4 separate regions of the Homo sapiens genome follow, and all the other regions are linked to region 3. Evidence: promoter capture Hi-C in 16 types of primary human blood cells and fetal thymus (Javierre and others, 2016). All regions are on one chromosome and are shown on one strand. Each heading gives the region's core, a stretch centred on a gene start or on the middle of the fragment in contact. The rest is flanking DNA. Distances are from core to core; before and after follow the strand shown.

Region 1 (6,810 bases), core at 2,172-4,671, 1.0 Mb after region 3:
TTGAAAAATAAAGAAATGCCTAATGGTTTTGTCTGAACTTTTAATCAGGGGTTTTGTATCAGGGTAATGCTGGTCTCATAAAATTAGTTTCAGCATTACCCTGATACAAAAACTGATTTAAAAAATGCCAGCGAAAGAAATAAAGAAAACTCCAGTTCAATATCTCTCATGAACATAGAAACAAAGATTATGAAATTTTAGCAAATCAAATCCAGATATGTGTGTGTGCATGTGTGTGTGCCTGTGTGTATAAAGATATAAAAAGTAATACATCCTGACCAAGTAAGGTTTACCATAGGAATGCAGGATTAGTTTTAATATCCAAAAATTAATCATTGCAATTATGCTATATTATCAGAAAAAAAAGATCATCTTATGTAGTATATATAGAAAATGCATCTGACAAAATTCAACCCTCATTTATAATAAAAGTTTTCAGCCAATTAGAAATAGAATGGAGCTTTCTCACTCTGATAAAAGGAATCTATGAGAAACCTACAGATTACACCTGTAGTGCACATAATATAGTAAGATTGAAAAGACAGCAAAGATGTCCACTCTGACCATTGTTATTCATCAGTGTACTGGAGTCCTGTGAGATATAAAGATACATAGATTAGAAAGAAGAAAAATGTAAACTCATTTTCAGAAAACATGATTGTGTACATAGAATATCCTAAGGAATTCTAAAAGAAAAAAAAGCCTACTACAACTAATAAATGAATTGAGCAAGGTCACAGGACACAAAGCCAATATACAAAAATCAGTTGTATTTCTATATATTAAAATGAACAATTAGAAAGTAAAATTTTTTAAATACTATTTATAGTAGTATCCCAAAACACAAAACATTTAAGAATAAATTTTTTAAAATATATCCAAGATCTGTACGATGAAATCTATAAAACATTACTGAGAGAAATTAAGCAATACCTAAATAAATTGGGAATGATGTTCATGGATTGAGAGACTAAATATTGTCTATGTCAGTTTTCCCAAATTGGTCTATAGCAGGGTTTTGCAATCTATGGCCTATGGACCCAATATGTCAAATTTTGTAAATAAAGTTTCATTAGAACACAACCATACCCACTTATTTATTAATATGTATATTCTAGTTTTTGTAAATACATAGGTATATACATGTCTATGTGTTTTTATATTGGTATAAGCACTGAGAGTGGTGTTGCACTATCACCAGGCTGTGGACATTCATCACCTCAGGGGGATGGGAATGAAATAATATTGAGGAGCGATTGTAATTTTTATACATCTTTGCCTAGTTTTACTTATTGCATGAAGCATAAATTATTTTTGTATTTAAATTTTTAATTTTAAAAGCACAAACACTTATCATTCTAAGAAATGTATATAGTGTTTATAGTTGCTTTTCAGATCTCCTCTTGCTAGAATTTGTTAGACCTGCTATTAAAGTAAAATTCAAAGGAACTCAGTTTATTGCTCCAGAGCCCAAAGTGCTTTCAAACAAAGGTACATGACCTGCACTTGCACTCTTACTCTCAAGGGATAGAAAATCAGGATGGTACTTCAAAAGCAAAATGAGGAGGTAGATGCTGGACAGAAAACAACAGGAAATATTGACCTAAATACCAAATAAAACAAGGAGGGGGAAAGGAAAAGGAAGAAAAAAAAGGAAGGAAGGGGAGAGAGCCTAGAAGAGAACTTAGGGAGAGCTAATCCAGGAGTCTTCAGACCCCCTGCTTGCCTCAGGCTGTACCTTCATAATCCCTTCACTTCTCCTATGAAAGTAGTTACCTTGGATAACCACTGCTCTCTTGACTGTCAGTGTGAGTAGTGTCTCACTTCCTTCTAACATTTGCTATCACATCAACACTAGTGTTCGTGTCGTTGGTGAATTTGTTTTTGTTCTCTTTCCCTAGTCCATTGGTTGGCATAACCATCTCTCCAGCAATCAGGAAGAGCCAAGGAGTGGGTATACAGTTAAAGTGGGTTTTTTTCACTTATTTTAACTGGGAAACAAATCCAACTCTTTTCAATATGATTTAATTACTGTCAAAAAATACAAATGGTTGATTTTTATTCAAAGCAAATACTTTGAAATTATATAATCCCAAACCCTTTATTTAGTAAGAAGTTTTAATCATTAGCAAGCCTTCATGACAAATAGTGTGGGAATACTCTAAATGTAGGAAATTTTAAAAAATTTATTGCCATTAAAAAATATAAATTTTCTTGGGGTAATTATAAACATCAAATCCAAATTTTAAAAATTCTTACATTTTAGAGCCATATTACCTCAAACAGTAGGTCCCATATTTAAATTCAAGGTTTTGTTCTTATTTTTAATCCAACAGGGCCATCCATCACTTGTGAAAGCTCTGTCCTATCTGTATGAAAAGCTTTATCAAAAGCAAATTGATTCAAATAAAGAAATCCTTGTGACAGTAGGAGCATATGGATCTCTTTTTAACACCATTCAAGCATTAATTGATGAGGGAGATGAAGTAAGTATATTAACATTATCGTAATACCCATATTAATCAATTATCATTTGTCCCACCTTTGAATCTTTCGCTTATATTCTACTCTTTTCTCTTTTTATTTTTAATTATGTTTTAAGTATAATGCATGTACAGTAAAGTTCACAAATCTTAAATGTACAGCTGGATAAATTACTGTGTAAATTTCTGTGCAACTACAACCAGACAAAGATATGATACATTTCCAGTACCCAGAAAACTTCTTTGTTCCTCTTCAGAGTCTATATTCTCCCAGAGGTAAGTACTCTTCTGTCTTCTATTACCATAGGCTTGTTTTCACTGCTCTTTTACTTAATATGAATATAATTATACAGTGTATACTCTTGGGTCTAGATCCATTCATTTATTTTTGTGTCTGTGAGATTCATCCATTTTGTTGCATATAATTTATTCTTATTTTTATAGCCTATTTAAATAAGGGCAGATGGAAGGGACTAACACTGCCAGGGAAAAAGAATCTTTTGTTTTCATTGCTAAAATAACCTTTACTCTTAACTTGGTCTACAAGTTTTTGATCAATGTCTTTGTGTGCCCAGTAATTGTATAAGCCATCCCATGTGAGGATGTTTTTGTGATTGTTTTTGTTTTTTTGAGATGGAGTCCCACTTTGTTGCCCAGGCTGGAGTGCAGTGGCACGATCTTGGTCACTGCAACCTCCACCTCACGGGTTCAAGTGATTCTCGTGCCTCAGCCTACTGAGTAGCTGAGATTACAGGCGCCCGCCACGAAGCCCAGCTAATTTTTGTATTTTTAGTAGAGATGGGATTTTGCCATGTTGGCCAGTCTGGTCTCGAACTCCTGACCTCAGGTGATCCGCCTGCCTCAGCCTCCCAAAGTGCTGGGATTACAGGCGTGAGCCACCACGCCCAGCTGAGAATGTATTAATATAATAGGAAGGTAAAATGATTTCTGCGATTTAGTACTGTGAGGTATGACCAACTTTTGCAACTACCTCAGTCATCTCTACCCGTATTTCCCATTAGCATTCCAATAGCCTTACTTTAATACTTTTTGCCTCTTTCATTTATTCAGAAAATACTGAGGATCCAATATATGCTAAGCACTGTGAGATAGAAGATGTTTTAAAGATAGATTCTATGCAGAAGGTGTTCCCTGTCTAGTAGAGAACACAGACTTGCAAATGGATTACGAGGAACACTATGGTAGTGACAAAAGGAAGAGGCAATCACCTCTGCTAAGTCTGGAAAGCTCCAGAGAGACATTGCTTAAGCTGGGACTGCAGAACGAATATTTATCCTGATCTATATTGTTAACTTTCTTTAAACTCTCATAACCCTTTATCATACCACTTTTATGAAAGATGCCACTATCTGCTTTGTGTTATGTTATTCTTTTACAACTTTGATTCCCTTCACTATGCCAGACAAGATGTTTAAGGAAACATGTTAATGAAGTTCACAGTTTCATATACATAAACTCCTTTAATCCTATACATAGTTTTGTCTCATACTTCGATGTTGTTAATCCTTTGTTGCTTCTTTCTCTGCACTCTGTTGGGAGTATTATAAGGCTTAGCCCTTAGCTTTCTTTCCTCTATTCTTTCTTCCTTCATCAACTTATCTAGTATTTTGAAACCACATACATGTCACTTGCTATCATACTGACCTATTTATTGTTTCTTTATAGCATTTATTACTATCTGAAATTATCTAATGTCCTTATTTGTCTCTCCGTTCATTATAAGCCTCTCTCAGTAGGATATAAGTTCTAGGAGAACTTTATAGCTTTACTGCCAGCACCTAAAATAGTGAGGACGCAATAAATATTCTCAAAAAAAAAAAAAGAGAGAGAGGAATTGTTCACATCATAAAAGTGAAAAAATCAAGGCGAAGAGTAACAGGTATATTTCTCCCACTCTACTGCCCTGCCTCTCCAATTTATTTTCCTTTATTGTGCTCTCACCTTGTATTAAGCTTTATATTTCCCACTAGAGTTACAAAGATAGATTGTCTTAGTCCCTGAGAACTTCACAGATGAGGCTGAGTGTGGTGGCTCAGGCCTGTAATCCCAGCACTTTGGGAGGCTGAGGCAGATCACCTGAGGTTAGGAGTTTGAGACCAGCCTGGGCAACACGGCGAAACCCCATCTCTACTAAAAATACAAAAATTAACCGTGCTTTTGAGAAGAGAGAAACATCTTTACTCTCAAGATAATGCTTTTAAATTAGCACTTTATACCAGGGAACATTACAGTGTTCTCTTCCCACATAGCCTGCTGTCTGTCACTGCTTATACATCACTTATATTCTAGATTTTATTTTCTGATTTGAAATATGAAGAAATGCTTAATCGTTTTGCCTGGAATATCCCTTTGAGAATGTGATAGTCCCATTCTCCAGGTAAATCTATCTATGCATATATGAAATTTTATATGTAATTTCAAATACTCCCACTGCATGCTTATTTATAGATCTCCCTAAGATACCAAGGAGTCCAATTAAGACTACCTGGACAAGTTTGTCTCCGAGGTCTCTTCCCCTCAGATGTTAGCTCCACAAGGGCAAAGCCTGCCTTTTTCACTGCTGTATCCCAACACATAGTACAGTGCCTAGCCCATAGTAGGTACACAGTATTATTAACATGAATAAATGATTGACAGGTTGTGATCTTATTTGCTTTTATTGCAGGTCATACTAATAGTGCCTTTCTATGACTGCTATGAGCCCATGGTGAGAATGGCTGGAGCAACACCTGTTTTTATTCCCCTGAGATCTGTAAGTTTGCCAGTATGGTTCATATGGCAAAGTTTCAAGACTTAAGAAGTCTTGAAAATACCAATTACTTTGTCATGATAAAGTTTCTACTTTGATTGCATTTGGAGATTTCCTGTATATCTCTATTTGTCTAGTTGTCTTTTTAAAATATTTTTAACATAAGTAATACACTAAGGTGAGTCACAAAATCTTCAGCTAGCCTTACAATATCAGACATGTTAACCATAGTTATAGCTAGTTCCTGTGAAGTAATATTAGCAGCAGTTAATGTTGACAGGGCTTATTTTTCCATTTAACAGGTGTGAGCATAAGACTTAGGTTTTCTTAGGCTCTTAAGCAGAACTACAGCCCAGTTATTTCTGTTTATCTTCTTTGTTAGTCTTTTTCTAGTTTTTTTTCTGTTCCTACTGCAGGAAAGCATTTGTTGGTAATTTATTCAGTTTCCTTTGCCATGACTTTCTTTGATGTTTTTTTCCTTATTAGGTTATTCGTTTGTAAGACAGTAAACATGACTTAATTGAATTAAATTATATCTTCATTCTTCATGCTTAGAAACCTGTTTATGGAAAAAGATGGTCTAGTTCTGACTGGACATTAGATCCTCAAGAACTGGAAAGTAAATTTAATTCCAAAACCAAAGCTATTATACTAAATACTCCACATAACCCACTTGGCAAGGTAAGCAAGTCTCATCTCCTTATACAGTCTTCTGACCTATCATTTTCTCACATGTTGAATAATTGGCTGTGCTCTTTCCTTTATTATGTGTAGGTGTATAACAGAGAGGAACTGCAAGTAATTGCTGACCTTTGCATCAAATATGACACACTCTGCATCAGCGATGAGGTTTATGAATGGCTTGTATATTCTGGAAATAAGCACTTAAAAATAGGTACCAACTATAACACAGAGTCACATATCTAAATGTGTTTGGGCACATATGGAAGAACTGATTGGAAAGCATCCCAGACCAACTCTAAAACAGTCTTTGTAATGGGTATCTGTCTGTATGAACACTTTAAAATAGTATTTAAATGAGCAATACTTTAGTGAATTGATGAATAGTTCAAAGGACAAAGAGTAAGAGATTTTGGATCATACTATAAAGCTATGATACCAGAAAAGTAGTTCTTTTGCCCATATATCCCTGGCTTCTTAGCAGAAATCCAGCAATTACTTGGTACATAAGACACAGGGAGCTTTCTTGTGCCTGAAAAGGTTCTAGACGGTCTATGCTGAACAACTTACCAAAATGCCAAGTCAACAGAAAGAAATTACAGGGGTAGTCAGGTATGCTGCTTGGCCCTTGCTTGAGATTCAGCCATTACTACTGGGCTATCTCATGAATGCCGTACTGTCTGCTGGGGTAGTCCAAACCATGTCAACTATAGGATTACAAACTGGGCTGCAACTTTTGGGTCTTCGCACCTCCCTTTCCTTTGCCTGGAAACACTTTTCCTCCAGGTATCCACCTGACTTCAAATATCCTTCACCTCCTTCAGGCCTTTGTCCAATGTCAGTTTTCATGACCATCACATTGAAAATAGTTAACAC
Region 2 (6,731 bases), core at 2,899-5,398, 1.1 Mb after region 3:
TGCACCACCACACCCACCTAATTTTTGTATTTTTAGTAGAGACAGGGTTTCACCACGTTGTCCAGGCTAGTTTTAAACTCCTGGCCTCAAGTGTTCCACCTGCCTCGACCTCCCAGCGTTCTGAGTTTACAGGCGTGAGCTATGGCACCTGGCCCATTTTTAAATAATGTAAAAGTATCCCATTATATTTTCAGCCTTCCCACCAGCCTCACTTCCACTTTAACCAGCAAGACAGTGGAGATTAATCAACTGAAAAAGGAAGATACAATTCACAAGACTTGTATGCTTTCTTGTGCTTGGAATTCCTAATTTTTGCTTGTACTTTTCTGCTATATCAAACCAAAGGAAGTTAATTTTGTTTTTGCTTTTATTGACTTACTAGTATCAAACACCATGTTAAATCTTGAGATCTGAAAAACATATCCAATAAAACTTACTTTCTATAATATATGACAGTATTTCTTTTTGATACTGATTCTTCTAACATAAAATATAACCAACACTTATTTTAAAATATACGGTAGGCTCATTCATAGATATTTGTGGTTAAATGTGTAATATATCTTGTAAGCGAAGAATCCATTCCATTACCAAACAAGGGCAGGTGTAGAAGAGTCTAGGAGCAAAGTTCTGTTTTGCTGAGACTATCATCAAGCAAATTAAGTTGGAAATACCTAAATTGAACATGACACTGCATGAATATAAATCAATATATGACATAAACACCTGTATATATTAATGTCATATATCAATAGTACATTTAGATTGCATTAAAATCATATGTCACTTGATGAGGGTATGTTCTGAGAAATGCATCGTTAGGTGATTTCATCATATGAACATCATAGATGGTACTTAATAAAACCTAGATGGTATAGTCTACAACACACCTAGGCTACATAGTATAGCCTATTGCTTCTGGGCTACAAACCTGTACAGTGGTATTGTACTGAGTACTGTAGGCAGTTTTAACTCAGAGGTAAGTATGTATCTTTTTTTTTTTTTTTTTTTTAAATACATACCTAGCATGTATTTATTCTGGCTTTTGGAGCTTCTGGCCAAACTCATATTCTAGTATGTGGTGTTTTTAACATCCTGTTCAATGTAGGCTTTGTGGGGCATGTCTGACCAATTGTACCTTCACTTACTAGTTCTTTTTTTTTTTTTTTTTTTGAGACAGCATCTCGCTCTGTCACCCAGGCCGGAGTGCAGTGGCATGATCTCGGCTTACTGTAACCTCCACCTCCCAGGTTCAAGTGATTCTCATGCCTCAGCCACTCGAGTAGCTGGGGTTAAAAGTATGCACTGCCACTCCCAGCTAATTTTTGTTATTTTAGGAAAGACGGGGTTTCCCCATGTTGGCCGGGCTGGTCTCAAACTCCTAGCTTCAAAGAGATACCCCCAGCCTCGGCCTCCCAAAGTACTGGGATTACAGGTGTGAGCCACTGCGCCAGGCCCCACTTACTACATTTTTGTAGGTACTCAGGTACATTAACTTATCCAGTTTACCTATGAAAAGTGGGAGAAAGTATCCTTTCATCCCATTGTTCTGTGAGTTGTCAGGGTGCATACAGACCCTGCCATATATGTGAATGTGTTCAGCTCTCTGGAGTCAGTGCCTCCAGTATTTATATATCGAAACATAGAAAAGGTACAATGAAAAGACAGTATTATAATCTTAAGGGACCACCATTGTGTATATAGTCCATTCTAAGCCAAAATGTTATGCAACATGTGACTGTATATGTAATTGAATTTGCATCAGCTCGCTGGTTTAAAGGCATCTGCTCTTCATTGCCAGCTCAGTTCAGCCTTTACCTCTTACACTAAGAAAATGGGGAAGAAATCAAGGTGGGCAAATATTCTACAACCCACTAAGGGACAACATTTGTGACTTTTTTCTTATTTAAATTACTGTTTTTCATGGGAATTTGAATCCAGACATCAAGTGTTTCCTAATAAATTATCTTGGTATACATGATTGATTATGCTTGCCATAAAATTTTTTACATTGTCTGAAACTTTTTAGATTAAACCATATTAATTCAGTAAACATTTTCAGAATTGTTTTTGGACAGTCCCATTTTTCTTTTCTTTTTCTTTTTCTTTTTTATTTTTTTGAGATGGAGGAGTCTTGCTCTGTCGCCCAGGCTGGAGTGCAGTGGCACAATCTCTGCTCACTACAACCTCCACCTCCCGGGTTCAGGCAATTCTCCTGCTTCAGCCTCCGGAGTAGCAGGGATTTACAGGCACATGCCACCCCGCCCGGCTAATTTTTTTGTATTTTTAGTAGAGACGGGGTTTCACCATGTTGCCCAGGCTGGTCTCAAACTCCTGACCTCAGGTGATCCACCCGCCTCGACCTCCCAAAGTGCTGGGATTACAGGTGTGAGGCACTGCGCCCAGCTGGACAGTCTTATATTTAATTAACGTTTAATTTGTGCTTGAAAATTAGGACAACCCATTGTCACTAATTCCTCTTAATAGCAAACTTAAGCATAGATACGGCCCAACTTGCATAATCAGAGCCATATGTCACCCTCTCATCTGTGTTAGCAACTAAGAGAGCCCATTACTATTACTTTTTTTTTTTTTTTTAAGATGGAATCTCACTCTGTTGCCCAGTCTGGAGTGCAGTGGTGCTATCTCGGCTCACTGCAACCTCCACCTCCCAGGTACAAGCGATTCTCGTGCCTCAGCCTCCTGCCTGAGTAGCTGGGACTACAGGCACCCACCACCGCACCTGGCTAATTTTTTGTATTTTTAGTAGAGACGGGGTTTCACCATGTCGGCTGGGCTGGTATCGAACTCCTAACCTCAGGTGGTCTGCCCACCTCGGCTTCCCAAAGTGCTGGGATTACAGGCACGAGCCACCATACCTGGCCACTATCACCTTTTTTAATGAAATAATTCATAATACCAAAAGTATATTTATCTTATAAGCTTATATCTTATACTTTATACCTTTTTTCCTGCCTCTAATAACATTTATCTCATTGTCTGTCAAACCTCCTTCTTCTTGAGGCCCACCCACCACCAATCTGAAAACAAGAGGCAAGTGTTTATTTTTCTTAAAGCAACATAATACTTCAGGAACCAATTTTTGTTTCATTTACAGTTACATTACAAACTACCTCAAAACTTAGTGGCTTACAACAACCATTTTATCTTGCTCATGATTTTATGAGTCAGTAATTTGGGAAGGATTTATCTGGGCAGTTGGCACCGGCTGGGCCTGTAAGATCTGCTTCTATGATAACTTCTTCACTTGCATTTCTGGTTCCTCCGTGCTCCTTGACCTCCGCACATGGATCTGTCATCCTCCAGGGCTTCTCCATAGTTGTCTTACAGTAGTCATATTTTATACTACGTGGTAGTTGGCTTCTAAGAGAAATACCTCAAGAGCAAGTGTTCTGAGAAAGTGGAAGCTAGACATGGGTAGGTAAGGGTTATGCCTAGAACTGGCACAGGATCACTTCAGTATTGTATTCGTCAGAGCCATGATAGGACCCACCTGAGTTGAAGGGAATGGGGAAATAGGCTGTACCTAAACTTGATACTGACGAGGTCACATTGCAGAAGAACATGTGGATGGGAGATATTGTTGCCATCTTTGGAAAATACAAATTGTCACACATTTACTGTCCTTTGATAATGCTTTTCCCCAGTATTTAAATAGCTATGTATTATTTAGTGTCTCTTAAAACTTGTTTCCAATTTTTGTAGCTATAGTTAATGCTATTCAACATGTGATAGTTGTTTAATTGGTTCTCTTTTATTTGAATTACAAGATTTTTATTTGAAACATATGAAGTGTTATGATTTGGTATTAGCTGCCCATTTCATCAGTGATCCTTGAGATACTGGTAGTGACTCTAAAACAACCAATTTTTTATTTTTTTATTTTTGAGACAGGGTCTCACCCTGTTCCCCAGGCTGGAGTGCACTGAAATCATCTCGACTCACTGCAACTTCCACCTCCCTGGTTCGTTCAAGCGATCCTCTCACCTTAGCCTCCTGAGTAGCTGGGACTACAGGCACACAGCACCACACCTGGCTAATTTTTGTATTTTTTTGTAGAGACGAGGTTTAGCTGTGTTGCCCATGCTGGTCTTGAACGTCTGGCCTTAAGCAGTCTACCCGCCTTGGCCTCCCAAAATGTCCACGCCCAACCTGGGCCAATTCTTAAAGTTTTGTTGTTCCTACTGTGAAACTGTTAGTTGTCTTTGCTTGTTTGTTTGTTTTGTTTTTGAGACCGAGTCTCGCTCTGTCGCCCAGGCAGGAGTGCAGTGGCTTTATCTTGGCTCACTGCAACCTCTGCCTCCCGGGTTCCAGTGATTCTCCTTCCTCAGCCTTCTGAGTAGTGGGATTACAGGTGACCACCACCATGCCCAACTAATTTTTGTATTTTTAGTAGAGATAGGGTTTCGCCATATAGGCCAGGCTGTTCTCAAACTCCTTACCTCAAGTGATACACGTGCCTCGGCTTCCCAGAATGCTGGGATTACAGGCATGAGCCACTGTGTCCGGCCGAAACTGTTTGTTCTAACAGCACTCTTTTGTGGGGGTTTTTTCCCAAATTCCAATTGTATGATTATGTCGTTTTAAAAGTTGAACACTAGGTGGCAGTATTATTGTATTTAGATAATCAGTTCATGAATTTGACCTTGTACATTGCCCATAAATTGATTTTTATAATCAGTAAAGTATTAGCTTAGTAACCTGCCATAATTGCTATTAAAACATAAAATTGGTCTATCATGACTTTATAAATTATTTCACAATGAGGAGTTGTTTGAAACTAGTAGTAGTATTTCTAGTTAAAGCCACTTTTTTGTGTACCATTTAAATCTAAATTATTTGATTGTATGTAAAAGCAACGTAAGGAAAATACTGGAAAATAGCTTAGGTATATTTGAAAGAGAGAAATGAGTCCATTTGACCTCTCCCTTCTACTAAACTCATTCTGCATATTGTTTATACCAGCGAATCTGAAATATGAATATATAAATGGGCATTAAGAGTCAGCTGGGGAATGTGCTTAAAAAGATTCTAGGCTCCATTCCCAGAAATTCTAATGTAGGTCATACATTGGTAACATATTGAGGAACACAAATCTGTACTACTTTATAATTTACCACATTCTTTTGGATTTTCTGTACGTTTAGATTTTTTATCTTCATATTTTCCATGTCTTCACACCTACACTGCAAACTCCTTTGGGGCATATATTTTATAATTGTGTGTCTCCATTGCTCCTAGTATAGCTAGAAGTCAGTGTCTCTAGAATTGAGGGTTGGCTTTACTAATTAGTAAGCTGTGTAACTATAGTTACATACTTTGTTCAAGCTTAATTTGTTTCATCTGTAAAATCTTTTTTCCTCACCCATGAAAGACAGATACATCTCAGAATTGCTGAGTCAGATGAAATAATGTATAAAATATATAGTGTAATTTTAGTATAAGATTTCACTGATACATATTGTGGAGATACAAGTGCTTTTTTTTGAGACAGGGTCTCGCTCTGTTGCCCAGGCTAGTGGCATGATTATGGCTCACCGCAACCTTGACCTCTCAGGCTCAGGTAGCCTCCTGCCTCAGTTTCCCAAGTAGCTGTCGCCACGGGCTCAAACCACCACCCTCAGCTAATTTTTTAAAAAATTATTAATATTTGTAGAGACAGCATCTCCCTGTGTTGCCCAGGCTGATCTCGAACTCCTGGGCTCAAGCAATCCTCCTGCTCCAGACTCCACAGTGCTAGAACAGGCATGAGCACTGTGTTCGGCTTCCCCCTTGTTTTTTTTTAACCTTGTAGAAAAAGAGGGTGATTCTAAGTGTGAGATGCCACATTTCATAGCATGTCAGTTGCAACATATCTTTGAGTGATTGCTGTGGGTCTGGTATATTTAATGCTCCAATTATAGTATGTTAAAGATTATTGGGTTACCCTCTTTCAGTTAGCATTAACAGTGTTTCCTAAAGGAAAAAATCAGGTTTCATTTAATATGGCCAAGTTAAGTTTTTAAAATAAACGTATTTGTATTCACTTACAAGTTATTTCTTTGGCATCCCTTGTAAGCCGTTAGACACAGCCTTCTTGCCTAATACAGCTTTTAATTTGGGTGCAGTTTTTCTCTTAAACATCAAAAAATTACTCATTAACTGCTTGAGTAGCAGACTGCCCTTTGAGCTGGTTTGTTTCCATTTTACAGAAGGGGAAACTGAGACTCAGAGTGCTTAGGTAACTAGCTCAAGATTCCCATCTTCTGAGTGACAGAGCCACATAAATCCAGGTCTATGGGACTTAAAAACCTTTTTTTACCATATGTCTCAGTTAAGCACTGTGCTGGTTGGTCACTGAGAGTGATAGAAAGATGAGAATGCTGTAAGCAAACCCTGGAGCAACTCTTTGGATAGTGTATGAAAGAGAGTAGGGTAACTTAATACAGTATCCGCGGTAAAAGCTACATTACAGATCTTCCGAGTATGGTGACATCCTGAAGATAGTACTGTTGAATTTCGAGTGAAGCATAGTTTTTAAGAATGAGTAAGGATTTATGGAGAGAAAATGATTCCAAGTAAAGAGAAAAAGAAACCTATGCCATAGGATAGAAGCCTAAACAGTAGTAGTGAGTGAGTGGCCAAATTTATTGTGGCCAAATTTAGGATACACCTTCAACCAGTGCATCAGCTCCTCATCTTAGATGCTGCTGCTCCTATCGACCTACTTG
Region 3 (6,949 bases), core at 2,549-5,048:
TGCTTCAGTTTTACTTTGTGAATATATTCTATTCTGTACGAAAGTTGGATTTTACATTTCTCTGGCAATCATGATATTTAATGCCTCAAGTCCTTCATATGTTTTTTAACCTGCATTAATTGTTCTGTGTTCTTTTTTTGTATTATTATCTTGTGTGGCAGGGCCCTAACTCTAATAACTATCAAAATGACATCCAATTGTATTCTACATACCTCTCATGATTCTATCTAGTTCTATAGTCACAAGTCTAATGTCATGCTCATGTCAATAAACAATCAAGCTTCTTCATGTGCTCCTCTAGACAGCTCTTTATATACTAACACATTTGGACACACTGAAGAAAATGACCTCAAAAACAAGGTCAAAATGCATTACAATACAAGCTATATAGAACCAAGCCAATAATCCACTTAGTCTACATTACTCAATACCAAAGCCTCTAATTCAACCAAAATAACTCAGCCAGTGTCTTGTGATTCATCACTCAGAATGTAGTTAGGCCCTTTGGAACACATTAAAATAATCATAATTCAAACAAAATGGACCAAAAAAAAAATCAAACTAATGTGAATAACCCCTAACATTTTCTGATAGCACATTCCCCAATTCAAATACTATATATAGTAAGACAATATTAACACATAAATGATATATCAAGAACCAAAACAAGGACTGAAATAGGTAGAACTGGCCTTTTACATTGATACTATATTTTTATGCGCATGAAGAGAAAAGCTGAAAGAGGATACTTACCATTAAAGCCCTGATAAGTATTCCTGCAGGCGGAGTGTGTGTAATCTATGAAGACACATTTAACAAAAAGGAATTAGTGTGATATTAGCAATAATTCAAAATTATATGCCGATCCAGTAAAAAACAAGCACAATTTTTAAAATGACATTAACCCAATTATCTGCAAAACTGAGAATAGTTAAAACAAATAATTACCAATACTCCATTCCAGAAAATGTATCTCTTTTTTCTTCACTATCTCCCCAAATGGTAGGTTTATTATCCAAATTATGGTAAACATTAGTTTACAACACCTGATACATAATAACAGCCAAAAGAGGGGATTCAGCACTGATTTGTACCAAGTAACACAAAGGCAGATAGATTAAATTATGTATCAAATAATGCAAAAGCAAAGACATCTGAGAATTGTACGTAACATGAAATTTTTGCTAAGTTAATTTCTTTTACCATTTAATTTGCTCTTTAAAGATTTCAAGATCTTGGCCGGGCACGGTGGCTCACGCCTGTAATCCCAGCACTTGGGAAGGTGAGGTGGGCGGGTCACGAGGTCAGGAGTTCGAGACCAGCCCGTCCAATATGGTGAAACCCTTTCTCTACTGGAAATATAAAAATTAGCCGGGCCTGGTGGTGCGTGCCTGTAGTCCCAGCTACTAGGGAGGCTGAGGCAGAAGAATCACTTGAATCCAGGAGGCAGAGGCTGCAGTGAGCCAAGACTGCACCACTGCACTCCAGCCTGGGCGACAGAACGAGACTCTGTCTCAAAAAAAAAAAGATTTCAAGATCTTATCTGAGACATGCATATGCATATACATATATGACTGTGTTCTATATTCAAGCAGAATGTGTCATCACTGAAAACCATATTGCCAATTTCCTCATCAAAACTAATTTAACAACTGTTAAATTCTTTAGTTAATTTTACAAATATATACTGAAAGAACAGAATTTAATATAGTGGTCATCTGGATACAACAGAATCCTGCTACACTATACAGGAATAGATTCATATATGGTGTTAGTCAAACTCCATCTTCCAAATACAGCAGTGGTATATTTGGGCAGTGAGACAGGGCGTATTTCATCACTAATATTGTTTAGAATTTCTATCACTGACACTGTTTAGAATTCTGGCATATGGCAATAACAGAAAGCAGACATACTACATTTTATTATTGTTTTTCAATTCTCCATAGAAATGGATTCCCTTATTGCCTTGGGTGGGGAGTGGAAAGAACTGTTTCTACTGCCCCACCTCCACTTTGTTAGCCTCTGCTATACCTTGGGTGTTGGCATTATCATCAAACTACAGCATGAAAATACAATAATATATTTTTTATTTTCACTCCCAACTCTGGCCACTTCAAATATTCATAGTTTTTTGTTTTGTTGTTGGTTTTTTGTTTTTTTTTTTTCAGACGAAGTTTGGCTCTTGTTGCCCAGGCTAGAGTGCAATGGCACGATCTCGGCTCACTGCAACCTTCGCCTCCCGGGTTCAAGGGATTCTTCTGCCTCCGCCTCCCAAAGTGCTGAGATTACAGGTGTGAGCCATCGTGCCCAGCCCAAATATTCATAGTTTAAAGGTATCTACATCAAAATGAGTTAAAGTCCAACCAAAACAAACAAAACCACGAGAGTGTGCTACTCTTAAGAGCTGAACTTACTATTTCAAAGTAACTGAAAAGTATCTACAAGAGGGCTATTCCAGTCCCCTTTCACAAATCTGTACCTAGATATGAAAGCTTTAATTCTTTGTTGCATGAAATGTTATGAAAAATCAAAAGCTCATCGAGTAAGACATATGCTGAGATCACACCTCATTTAAAGATCATTTTTTTGGTGGGGTTAAAAGTTTACAGCCTACTTAGTGAACTGGTTTTACTTAAGCATGCCTGGTTACTCAGGATTAAATCCAGTTTAATCACATAAGTCCTTTCCCATGTCTCCCTAATGTTGTCACTACATACCACTTTATCTTGACACCAATTCCAAGCAAGGTTTGAAAACAAAAGTGAAGACCAAATTAATATTACTTTGTGACCCTGTAAAAGTGGTTTAAAGAATTAGTATCTGAGACAACTGAAAAGTATTGCTAAAATACAGTTTATTTAATCCGTAAGTCAAACACTTACAAGGCTGTGTACAGGTCTAAATGTGAAGGACATTTGATGCTTGCTGTGCCAAAATTCTGATTAACTTAAATCCTACCTACACACGATCCAAAGAAAAGTGCTTTGGTTCACATAAATATTTCAAGTTAGGGATTAATAAGCAGGTAATTTTTGGTGATAAACACCCCAGTTTACTAACCAGGAAACATCTTGCTTTCCATTTTGCATAGATATTTATCTATACATATCACTTACAGACACCCTTTCAACTCATCTTAAACCGGGACAAACAGAAACATCACTGTGAACAAGCCTCTGAAAATTCTATCTGGCAAGAAGTAACCCGAGGCTGAGGATTAACTAAACGGACGGTCTGGGTCGCTGCCCTGTGGGGCGAATGCGAGACTAGGTGGGTGAGGCCGCACTCGCCCGTTTGCCCGAGACCGGGAAGTTGGAGACGTCGGGGCAATTTCCACTACCAGGGGCCAAGGCGAGTCTGGGGCTCCAGCCCGGAGGCTCTCGCGCTCTAGGCGCGTCCTACCGGACACCGAGTTCTCTTGTCTCCGCCGGCAGCGGGCGCCGAGCGGGCCGAATCGGGGCGCGTGGGTCCCCAAAGAGGCCGACTCCGGGCGCTGGGCCCGGGGCGGGCGGGCGGCCTCCGGGCCCGCAGAACAAAGCCCACACGGCCATCTTGAGACGGTAAACAGACCCCCTGCGTAGGCCACCCCGCCTCCTGCCAGCTGCGCCGACCAGCCAGAGGCAGCGCTTACCGTCCTCGAAGTCCATGGCAGAGGCTGAGGGCCGTCGGCCTTGGCGGCGCTAGGCTGAGCTATGGCCGGCGGCGAGCGTCCGCGACCCGCGATTCCACACGATCACTCCGCGCGACCGAGAGCGGCGCGCTACCAGCCCGGGAGCCGCAGGCCACAGCGAGGCTGGGGAGGCGGGGCCGACCGGCGCTACCAGCCCCATCGGCGCGGCCTGCTATTGGCTGACGCGGGCTGGTGGGCGGGCCCTCGCGTGGGGGGCGGGAAGCAGGTCCGCTGTCACGCTCGGAGGTGCTGACCCTCTGGAGCCGCTGACGGGGAAGGAAGGTAAAAAAGGAGCGCTAAAGATTGGCGGGGGTTGTGGGAAAGCAAGCCGAGTGTACGGGAAGGGCCGGCTGCGGCCCGCCATGTTTGAACCTGGCAAGAGCGAAAGAAGCCGGTTGGAATGCCTTCTTCCTGCCCAAACTAATAAAACCGCATGCCTACCTTTTGCTTAGTATTGGCTAGGGATGACTAATCATAACATTTGTAAGTACTTACGGGGTTTCCTCCATGGAGACACAGAAGTCTGGGACGTTTCTAGAAGCCTGTGGCAAATTTGAAAAGCAAGATACAAAATAGCGTATGGAGTCTGATTATCGCTATGTCAATAAATTTTCTTAAAGGACAAAGCACTGAAATAAAATGGAAATAATAATTCTTTTAAAAAATTTTTAAATTATTTTTATAGAGATGGGGGTTTTGCCATGTTGCCCAAGCAGGTCTCCAACTCCTGGACTCAAGCGATCCCCCCACCCCCAGCCCCGTCTCCGCCTCCCAAAGTGTTAGGATCACAGGCGTGAGCCAATGCGACCCGCCTGGAAAGAATTCTAAAACATGGCCTGCTTGGCCACCGCCCAGGATCTGCAAGCTGCGCGCCCACAAGTTTCGGCACCCATTTGGACTTTCACAATCGGAGATGGCAGTGGTGAAGGCATCAACATCAAAAGCTACCAGGCCTTGGTATTCTCATCCAGTATATGCAAGATACTGGCAACATTATCATCAAGCAATGGCTTGGATGCAAAGCCACCACAATGCCTACAGGAAGGCGGTGGAATCCTGTTTCAGTCTTCCATGGTTCTTCCTTCCTGCGCTTCTTCCCCAAAGCTCTTACGATAACCAGGCTGCGTATCCTCAGTCCTTCTATGACCATCATGTGGCCTAGCAGGACTCCCCCTGCAGTTCTTCACATTTCAGAGGGTCTGGGCAACATCCACATGGCAGCAGTAGGATCCAGGCATCCACAAGAGAAGACCAAGCCTTATCCAAGGAGGAAGAGATGGAGACCGAGTCAGATGCAGAGGTAGCATGTGACCTGAGCAATATGGAAATCACCGAAGAGCTCCGCCAGTACTTTGCAGAGACAGAGAGGCACAGAGAAGAACTACTGCGGCGGCAACAGCTGGATGCGGAGCGCCTGAACAGCTACGTGAACGCTGAACACGACCTGTACTGCAACACCCGCCGGTCGGTAGAGGCCCCAGCTGAGAGGCCTGGTGAGCGGCGCCAGGCCGAAATGAAGCGTTTGTACTGGGACAGCGCCGCCAAGATCCAGGCCATGGAGGCTAACGTGCAGCTGAGCTTTGACAAGCACTGTGATCCAAAGCAGCCTAATTACTGGCCGGTCATCCCCCCGAAGTTCTGAGCTCGGGGCACAGGGCACCCAGCCTCTTCCTCTTCCTTTTGGATACGCGCTCTTCATCTCTCCTTCTGTACATTTCTCAGGGAAAGGGGACTTTGTACTGAGGTACAGGCACGTTCACCACAGTCCCAGTGGGCCTGTCACGGGGTGGATGTACTGTGCCAGCCACTTGGAGGTCGGCAGGACATATTCTGTTGCCAACATGATAAATTTTATCCTGACATAAAATGATAATTTTGTATATATTATACTGGTTTTTTATGTTGTCAGTAACAGTTCAATTCATTAAAGTTCTTGCCTAGAAAAAAAAAAAAGAATTCTAAAACATGAACGATGATTCTTTTTGTGATGACTTTTTATATACACATGATTATGTGTTCTTCTATATCTCCAAATTCTTGAGCACTTTCATAATGTAAAATATATATTTGGCCTAAAACAAGATTTATTATTTATTAATGATTAGTGTTTGTTAAAAGTTCTCTTTAGCCAAATATTATGTTTCATTTTCTTTGAAGATATACTTAGTGATGCGGAGGTGGGGGGCTCTCTTGGCCATTTAAGTCAGTGGTTCTTGATTGTGACTCTACTCTGGAATCCTCCAGGGCACTTTTAGTAAGTGCCAATACTCAGGTTTCACTTCAGGGGTTCTGATTTGATAATGAACCAAAACTGTCACCAATGTTTATTTTCAAGACATTTAAAAGAGATGTTATTGGACTAATTTCTCTTCTGTTTCAGTAACCTGTACTCCTTGAGAAAATGTCAAGTCTAGAAAAAATAACTTTAGAGACAGGCTATGATCCAGTTCTGAATTTTAAGGTGCAAATAAAAGAGCTGTAACAGTTCACAGATGGGTAAGATTTGTGGCAGAAGAGTCATCCAGAGCTTGAAGGATGACCTATAGAAACACACACACACATACTGGATTGTATTATTGCCACTTTGGAAACAGTGTTTGAGACATGGACAAAGTTATTCAAACATTCAGGAATCTGGAAAAAGACAAACTGACATTGGAGCAGTTTGAACCACAGATTAAAAAACTTTTTTTTTTTCATAGAGCAAACGGTGGCAACAATGAGTTGATCACCAGATAGGAAACCATGAATCAAATTATTTACCTTTTTTCAGGGTCCACCCAGTTGCTGGAACCAAGTTTCAAGGAGGCAACCTCTGGAAATACAACTACAAGAAAAGCTCACAGATACACTATGTGTATTACTGTTGCCCCGGAAATGGGCAGAGCATTTTTTCCTCCTCCATCCTGATTGATTCACCCTGTTCTCCACCCTTTTCTTGTTTCCTCCTTTTTTCCCTTCTATGCAGATACTTCTCCACTTACTTGAGGTTACATCCCAATAAGCCCTTCATAAACTGAAAATATCACAAGTCAAAAATGCATTTAATATGCCTAACCTATTGAACATCATAACTTCACCTAACCTACCTTAAATGTGCTTAGAACATTTACATTAGCCTACAGTTGGGCAAAGTCATCTGGCAGCACAGTACATTGTAGAATATCAGTTGTTTACCCTTGTGATTACATCGCTGACTGGGAGACGCTGCCCAGCCTTGGAAAAGAGTATCCTACTTCATGTCACTAGCCTGCAAAAAGATCAAAATTCAAAATT
Region 4 (6,154 bases), core at 2,002-4,501, 1.0 Mb after region 3:
GTCTCTCACTCTTGCCGCCCAGGCTGGAGTGCAATGGCGCAATCTCGGCTCACTGCAGCCTCCGCCTCTCGGGTTCAAGCAATTCTCCTGCCTCAGCCTCCTGAGTAGCTGGGACTATAGGTGCCCGCCACCACTCCCGGCCAATATTTGTATTTTTTGTAGAGACGGGGTTTTGCCATGTTGGCCAGGCTGGTCTCAAACTACTGGGCTCAAGTGATCCACCCTCCTCAGCCTCCCAAAGTGCTGAGATTACAGGCATGAGTCACTGCGTCCAGCCCAACCCTCTCTTTTGATGTGAAAGTATCACCTTTTGTACATTTAGTCCATACCCAATATCTCTTTGCCTCCTTTAGTGCAAAGTTACTCATCCTTACTTGTATCTAAGAGAATCTTTCCTACTTTCTGAGTGGGCACTAGTTTTGGAGTATATATATTGTATGCCATGAACTATATTTTTCTGCTTATGGCTTTGCCTCATTTAATTGCCATAGCACTTACATGGGGCAGGTATTCATTTTCCTGCTTAGCAAATAAGGAAACTGAATTTCAGAGATGTCAGGTAACCTGCCTACTTCACACACTAGGAGTTTTGATGTTTAATTTTGAACTAAGATCTATCTGGCTTGAAAGCTCTTTGCATTAAACAACCTTGAACAATATACTTGGAACGTAGGTGTGTTTTTGGCACAGAACATGGCATGTGTGTGAGGGATTGAACACAGACTTGCCCAGATTCAAACTTACCAATCTTCTGTTTCATGTGCCCAGAAGAAACAGCCTGTTTCTCAGCCTCAAACCCAAACTTCTAGTTGTCTTGATTGGTTCAGCCTGACTGTCCAACTCTGATTTATAGCTGTGATTGGGGGAGCTGAGATTACACAGTGTAGGCAGGCAGAAGGGCCCCAGGCCTATTGATATGGGTGAGGACAATACTCACGCACTCCCTTCACTTACTCACTCTTCCAAGGTCTTGGCTTGAACCCAATTTTTTTTGAGAGAATAAACCAGGCTTTTTGTTCTCCACTTGGCCTGACTCCATTTCTGGCATTCCAGCCATGTATTTAGCTGTTATCAGCTTTCAGATTTAGAGAAAGCCTTGTTTCCAATAAGCTTGTTTCTCTGAAGTAATTGTTAAAATATAATTTTCAGAAAAAGGTTAAATCATGACTCATACAAATATAAAAATGAACATGTGCTAAAGATTTTTATTTCACTCATGTGATATGAAGTAACCAGACAGAAGTTATAACCAGTACATATGGAAAGTCAAAAAGCACAAATTCATATGTAGTAAAGGAATTGGATTGCAAATGAAGGCAAAACTGTTTTTTCTACAGGGTGGAGGGAAGATAATCAAAATGCTAGAACCAGAATTTGCATGCCTGTCACTTAGCTTCAATTTACAAAAGCCCAGAATAACTCAAAGGCAAATTCTAGCCCTGCAAATATCAGCCCTAAAGCTGTGCTGTGGCCAGTGCATAGTTTTCTATTGAAGTACAATTTTTTCCCCAAATACATTATCTCTCAGAGGGAGTCCAAATTGCTTCCCTTTCACTCAGCAGATCTGTTCAGTCAACAGATGTTAAATAGCTACAGCGTATCAGGCACAAATAATTCTTTATAAAATAAAGTAACAAACTATATGTTGTTTCAAAGTTCCAGTTAAGGCCAGCCGTGGTAGCTCACCCTTATAATCCCAACACTGGGAGGCCGAGGCAGGCGGATCACTTGGGCTAGGAGTTCCATACCAGCATGGCCAACATGGTGAAACCCTGCTCTACTAAAATACAAAAATTAGCCAGGTGTGGTGGCGCATGCCGGTAATCCAAGCTACTCAGGTGGCTGAGGCACAAGAATGGCTTGAGCCTGGGAGGCAGAGGTTGCAGTGAGCCAAGATTGCGCCGCTGCACTCCAGCCTGGGCAACACTGTGAGACTCCTGTCTACAAAAAAAAAAAAAAAAAAAAAAAAAAGCAACAAAAAAAGGGCTCCTGTTAATTATACACACTTTTGAGCTTAATATAATTGCATTTTTTATGTATCTTTAAGCATCTTTCCCTGCTTTACATTTCCACTTCTGAGTTTTACTTTCATTTCTTCCACCATTACAGGAACATTCTGTTGTTTTCCTCTGCCATCTAGTGGCAAAAGAAAGTAATTTTCCTGGTTTTTTGAATGGATAGCCATACCTTAAAAAGCATCCAGATTGCGCAGTAGTGCTAGCGGCTTCGCGGTTCAGTCCTCCTAACTGACAGCCGCCACTGGTGCTGAGCTGCTAGGAAGCCCCTGTCGGCGAGCTTGTTGGAGCTTGAACCCACTGTCACCCCTCCGACTCACCGGCAAAAAAAAAAATGGTTGAAGCAGATCGCCCAGGAAAGCTCTTCATTGGTGGGCTTAATACGGAAACAAATGAGAAAGCTCTTGAAACAGTATTTGGCAAATATGGACGAATAGTGGAAGTACTCTTGATAAAAGACCGTGAAACCAACAAATCAAGAGGATTTGCTTTTGTCACCTTTGAAAGCCCAGCAGACGCTAAGGATGCAGCCAGAGACATGAATGGAAAGTCATTAGATGGAAAAGCCATCAAGGTGGAACAAGCCACCAAACCATCATTTGAAAGAGGTAGACATGGACCGCCCCCACCTCCAAGAAGTAGAGGTCCTCCAAGAGGTTTTGGAGCTGGAAGAGGAGGAAGTGGAGGAACCAGGGGACCTCCTTCACGAGGAGGACACATGGATGATGGTGGATATTCCATGAATTTTAACATGAGTTCTTCCAGGGGACCACTCCCAGTAAAAAGAGGACCACCACCAAGAAGTGGGGGTCCTTCTCCTAAGAGATCTGCACCTTCAGGACTAGTTCGCAGCAGCAGTGGAATGGGAGGAAGAGCTCCTCTATCACGTGGAAGAGATAGTTATGGAGGTCCACCTCGAAGGGAACCGCTCCCCTCTCGTAGAGATGTTTATTTGTCCCCAAGAGATGATGGGTATTCTACTAAAGACAGCTATTCAAGCAGAGATTACCCAAGTTCTCGTGATACAAGAGATTATGCACCACCACCACGAGATTATACTTACCGTGATTATGGTCATTCCAGTTCACGTGATGACTATCCATCAAGAGGCTATGGCGATAGAGATGGATATGGTCGTGATCGTGACTATTCAGATCATCCAAGTGGAGGTTCCTACAGAGATTCATATGAGAGTTATGGTAACTCACGTAGTGCTCCACTTACACGAGGGCCCCCGCCATCTTATGGTGGAAGCAGTCGCTATGATGATTATAGCAGCTCACGTGATGGATATGGTGGAAGTCGAGACAGTTACTCAAGCAGCCGAAGTGATCTCTACTCAAGTTGTGACAGGGTTGGCAGACAAGAAAGAGGGCTTCCCCCTTCTGTAGAAAGGGGGTACCCTTCTTCACGTGATTCCTACAGCAGTTCAAGCCGCGGAGCACCAAGAGGTGCTGGCCCTGGAGGAAGCCGATCTGATAGAGGGGGAGGCAGAAGCAGATACTAGAAACAAACAAAACTTTGGACCAAAATCCCAGTTCAAAGAAACAAAAAAAAGAGTGGAAACTATTCTATCATAACTACCCAAGGACTACTAAAAGGAAAAATTGTGTTACCTTTTTTAAATTCCCTGTTAAGTCCCTTCCGTAATTTTTATGTTCTTGTGAGGAAAAAAGTAAAACATGTTTAATTTTATTTGACTTTATGACATTGCTTTTCAACAAGCAAATGTTAAATGTGTTAAGCCTTGTAGTACTAGTGTTGTAACTTTCCAAGTAAAGGTGTCCCTAAAGACCACTTCCTATCTGGTTTTTCCCAGTAAATGAGGCAAGCAATTCTAAGATCTTCCACAAAACATCTAGCCAACTAAAATGGAGAGATGAATCATTCTGCCTATACAAACAAGCTAGCTATTAGAGGGTGGTTGGAGTATGCTACTCATAAGATTTCAGGGTGTTTTCTAACTGAAATCTCACTGTTCTCAGTATGCAAAACCTGAAATCAGATGCCTATGTAAGGAAAGTGCTATTCACCCAGTAAACCCAAAAAAAGCAAATGGATAATGCTGGCCATTTTGCCTTTCTGACATTTCCTTGGGAATCTGCAAGAACCTCCCCTTTCCCCTCCCACAATAAGACCATTTAAGTGTGTGCTAAACAACTACGGAATACTAAATAAAAAGTTTGGCCAAAACCAACCATGAAGCTGCAAAGGTGCTTGCTCTTACTCTTTCAAATTTTTGCAACTCTAATGTCTCACTTTTAAAGGAACAGCTTGATTGCAAAGGAGAAAATAGATAAGCAATGAATTTATCTCCAACTTCCTAAAGGCTTATGACTTCTAAAAAGTGAATCTATCAGCATTCCACATCAGATTTAAAGCATCAAATGCCTGTGAAACAGCAAAGATGGTTGAAGATTGTGCTCATTATGTTTGTGGAGTGCTGATTGATTCACAGTAGATAACGCTGGCAGTAAGAGAAATCAAATGCTAAGAGTTGTTGAAGCAGAAGGCGGCTGATTGTTGGTAAGTCAGTGCAGTTGCATAAGCAGTGCTGTCAGAATTGGTTTGGTGCAGGCAATAGATTTTGCCTTCAAGGGTTCCTGTGGATCTCAGGAAGGCATCAGTGTTGATTAACACTCATAACTAGGGAGTGAGTGGTAGTTACTTAAGTAATTGACCAAATGGAAAAGGGGAAGTAATTAAGGAAATTGGTAAGTGGAGGTAGTCAGGAGGTTCTCGTGGTCCTTTACACAGATTTTACAGCTTTGGGTTTCATTTTGTTTAGCTAAAGTCATGGGGACAACTCTTCAATTTAGAACTTAAGATGAATTATAAAAATGATGGATATAAGTGGTAGCTCTATCTGGTGAAGTGTCTTGTCAGTAAGTGAAACATTTTTTTGTGGTGGCTTATCCACAAACAGTTTAGTTGTAGAATAAAACTTATGAGTGACATCTGGAAAGTAACAACCATGCTAAGATGGCAAACACACTGGAAACAATTGGGCCACTTGGCTTTCTTTTGCTGTATTGTTTTATAAGCCTGCTTTACCTCCCCGTCTTGGAAACAAGTTTTAGTTTATTGCTTTGGAGACTAGAGCCAATAGTGTAATGTTCTCAAAGGAAACAGACTTGAGTTGTTGGATTAGAGGAACTAACTCAACTTCTAATTTTTTTTGTTGTAATTATGGCACTGTCATGTTTTAACATTTGCAACTAGGGATAGTAAGTACAACATTTTTAACTCTCATTTGGCAGACTACTACTAATCACAGACCACAAGGGTAATGACCAAATTTATGTGGTTGTTACACTTCCATAGTTGTCTTAGCCGAATCCTTCCATATTCTTATGATTACTTGGGTTAAAGCTTCTGTGAGGACCTTTTGGCTCTTAAGATATCCTAAATATTTAAAATATTTAGATATCCTAAATATAGGATATAGAGTTTGTACCAAATATGAATGAATATTGTTCAAAGCAAGGAGTATGTTAAAATGACCAGACACCTGTTTGATAAATAGTTTACTGAACTAGCAGACGTGTGGAAAAAGAATCAGATCTTGATTCTTCTGGGTTTATACTGGTTGTAAAACAGAATGATATTAGAAAATGTTTTCCTTGTTTAAGTGGTAGTTGAACATAGAACTTGGGTATTATAGATCACTTTTCACTTTTTGGAATGTTTTGTATTGAAACTTAATACAACTTTAACATGGCAAAAAAAAAAAAAATCCAAAATCTATGAGATAATTTTGTTAAAGTTGGCTTGCTTGGGCGGGTGCTTGGTCCAGAGGGAGAAAAGAAGGCATGATTTCAGAATACTCTGGCAGCTTTTTAAATTCAGCTTTATCAAGTTACAGTAAACTGTATCTGTTTAGAATTACAACTCAATGGTTATTTTGACAGATGTATATGCCATGAAGCCACTGTCACCATCAACATGCAGAACACTTCCATCGCCCCCAAAAGATTCCTCAAGTTCCTTTGCAGTCCATCCCTCACGCTGCTGATTTGTCTTTGTCACCATATATTAGTTTGCTTTGTGGTGGTGTTTAGTATTTTATATAAATGGGATTGTGTAGCATGTACTTTTTTGTTTATGGTTTCTTTCACACACAATGACTTTGAAATTCA

Evidence for each region. The method cuts DNA at HindIII sites, captures the fragments that hold promoters and counts their contacts. A CHiCAGO score of 5 or more calls a contact.
Region 1: a fragment that was not itself captured here is called in contact with the fragment with the promoter of ZNF326 in region 3 in 6 of 17 cell types (activated CD4 T cells, total CD8 T cells, naive CD8 T cells and 3 more); the score reaches 9.6 in activated CD4 T cells.
Region 2: a contact is called between a fragment that was not itself captured here and the fragment with the promoter of ZNF326 in region 3, in 2 of 17 cell types (activated CD4 T cells and monocytes). The highest score is 5.9, in activated CD4 T cells.
Region 4: a contact is called between a fragment that was not itself captured here and the fragment with the promoter of ZNF326 in region 3, in 9 of 17 cell types (neutrophils, naive CD8 T cells, total CD8 T cells and 6 more). The highest score is 13.6, in neutrophils.

Annotation. Positions count from the first base shown.
Region 1 is chr1:88,960,505-88,967,314 of GRCh38, reverse strand. It overlaps KYAT3 (kynurenine aminotransferase 3), which reads left to right. Exons shown (of 14, transcript NM_001008661.3): 5 at 2,337-2,486; 6 at 5,170-5,256; 7 at 5,809-5,934; 8 at 6,028-6,148. Among named protein-coding and RNA genes, the nearest start is that of KYAT3, 29 kb to the left of the region's middle. The HindIII fragment of the contact is 2,075 bases long and covers 2,384-4,458 here.
Region 2 is chr1:88,875,451-88,882,181 of GRCh38, reverse strand. The region is part of intron 2 of GTF2B (general transcription factor IIB); the gene reads left to right. Among named protein-coding and RNA genes, the nearest start is that of GTF2B, 13 kb to the left of the region's middle. The HindIII fragment of the contact is 2,406 bases long and covers 2,946-5,351 here.
Region 3 is chr1:89,991,959-89,998,907 of GRCh38, reverse strand. ZNF326 (zinc finger protein 326) reads right to left here and starts at 3,798. Exons shown (of 12, transcript NM_182976.4): 1 at 3,635-3,798; 2 at 754-798. The coding sequence starts at 3,650. It also overlaps the pseudogene GEMIN8P4. RefSeq lists enhancers at 3,083-3,132, 3,014-3,579, 3,580-4,146 and a silencer at 3,353-3,992. The HindIII fragment of the contact is 7,808 bases long and covers 2,498-6,949 here.
Region 4 is chr1:88,980,022-88,986,175 of GRCh38, reverse strand. The region is part of intron 2 of KYAT3 (kynurenine aminotransferase 3); the gene reads left to right. RBMXL1 (RBMX like 1) reads left to right here. Exons shown (of 3, transcript NM_001162536.3): 3 at 2,110-6,154. The coding sequence starts at 2,350. The coding sequence ends at 3,522. Among named protein-coding and RNA genes, the nearest start is that of KYAT3, 9.5 kb to the left of the region's middle. The HindIII fragment of the contact is 4,277 bases long and covers 1,113-5,389 here.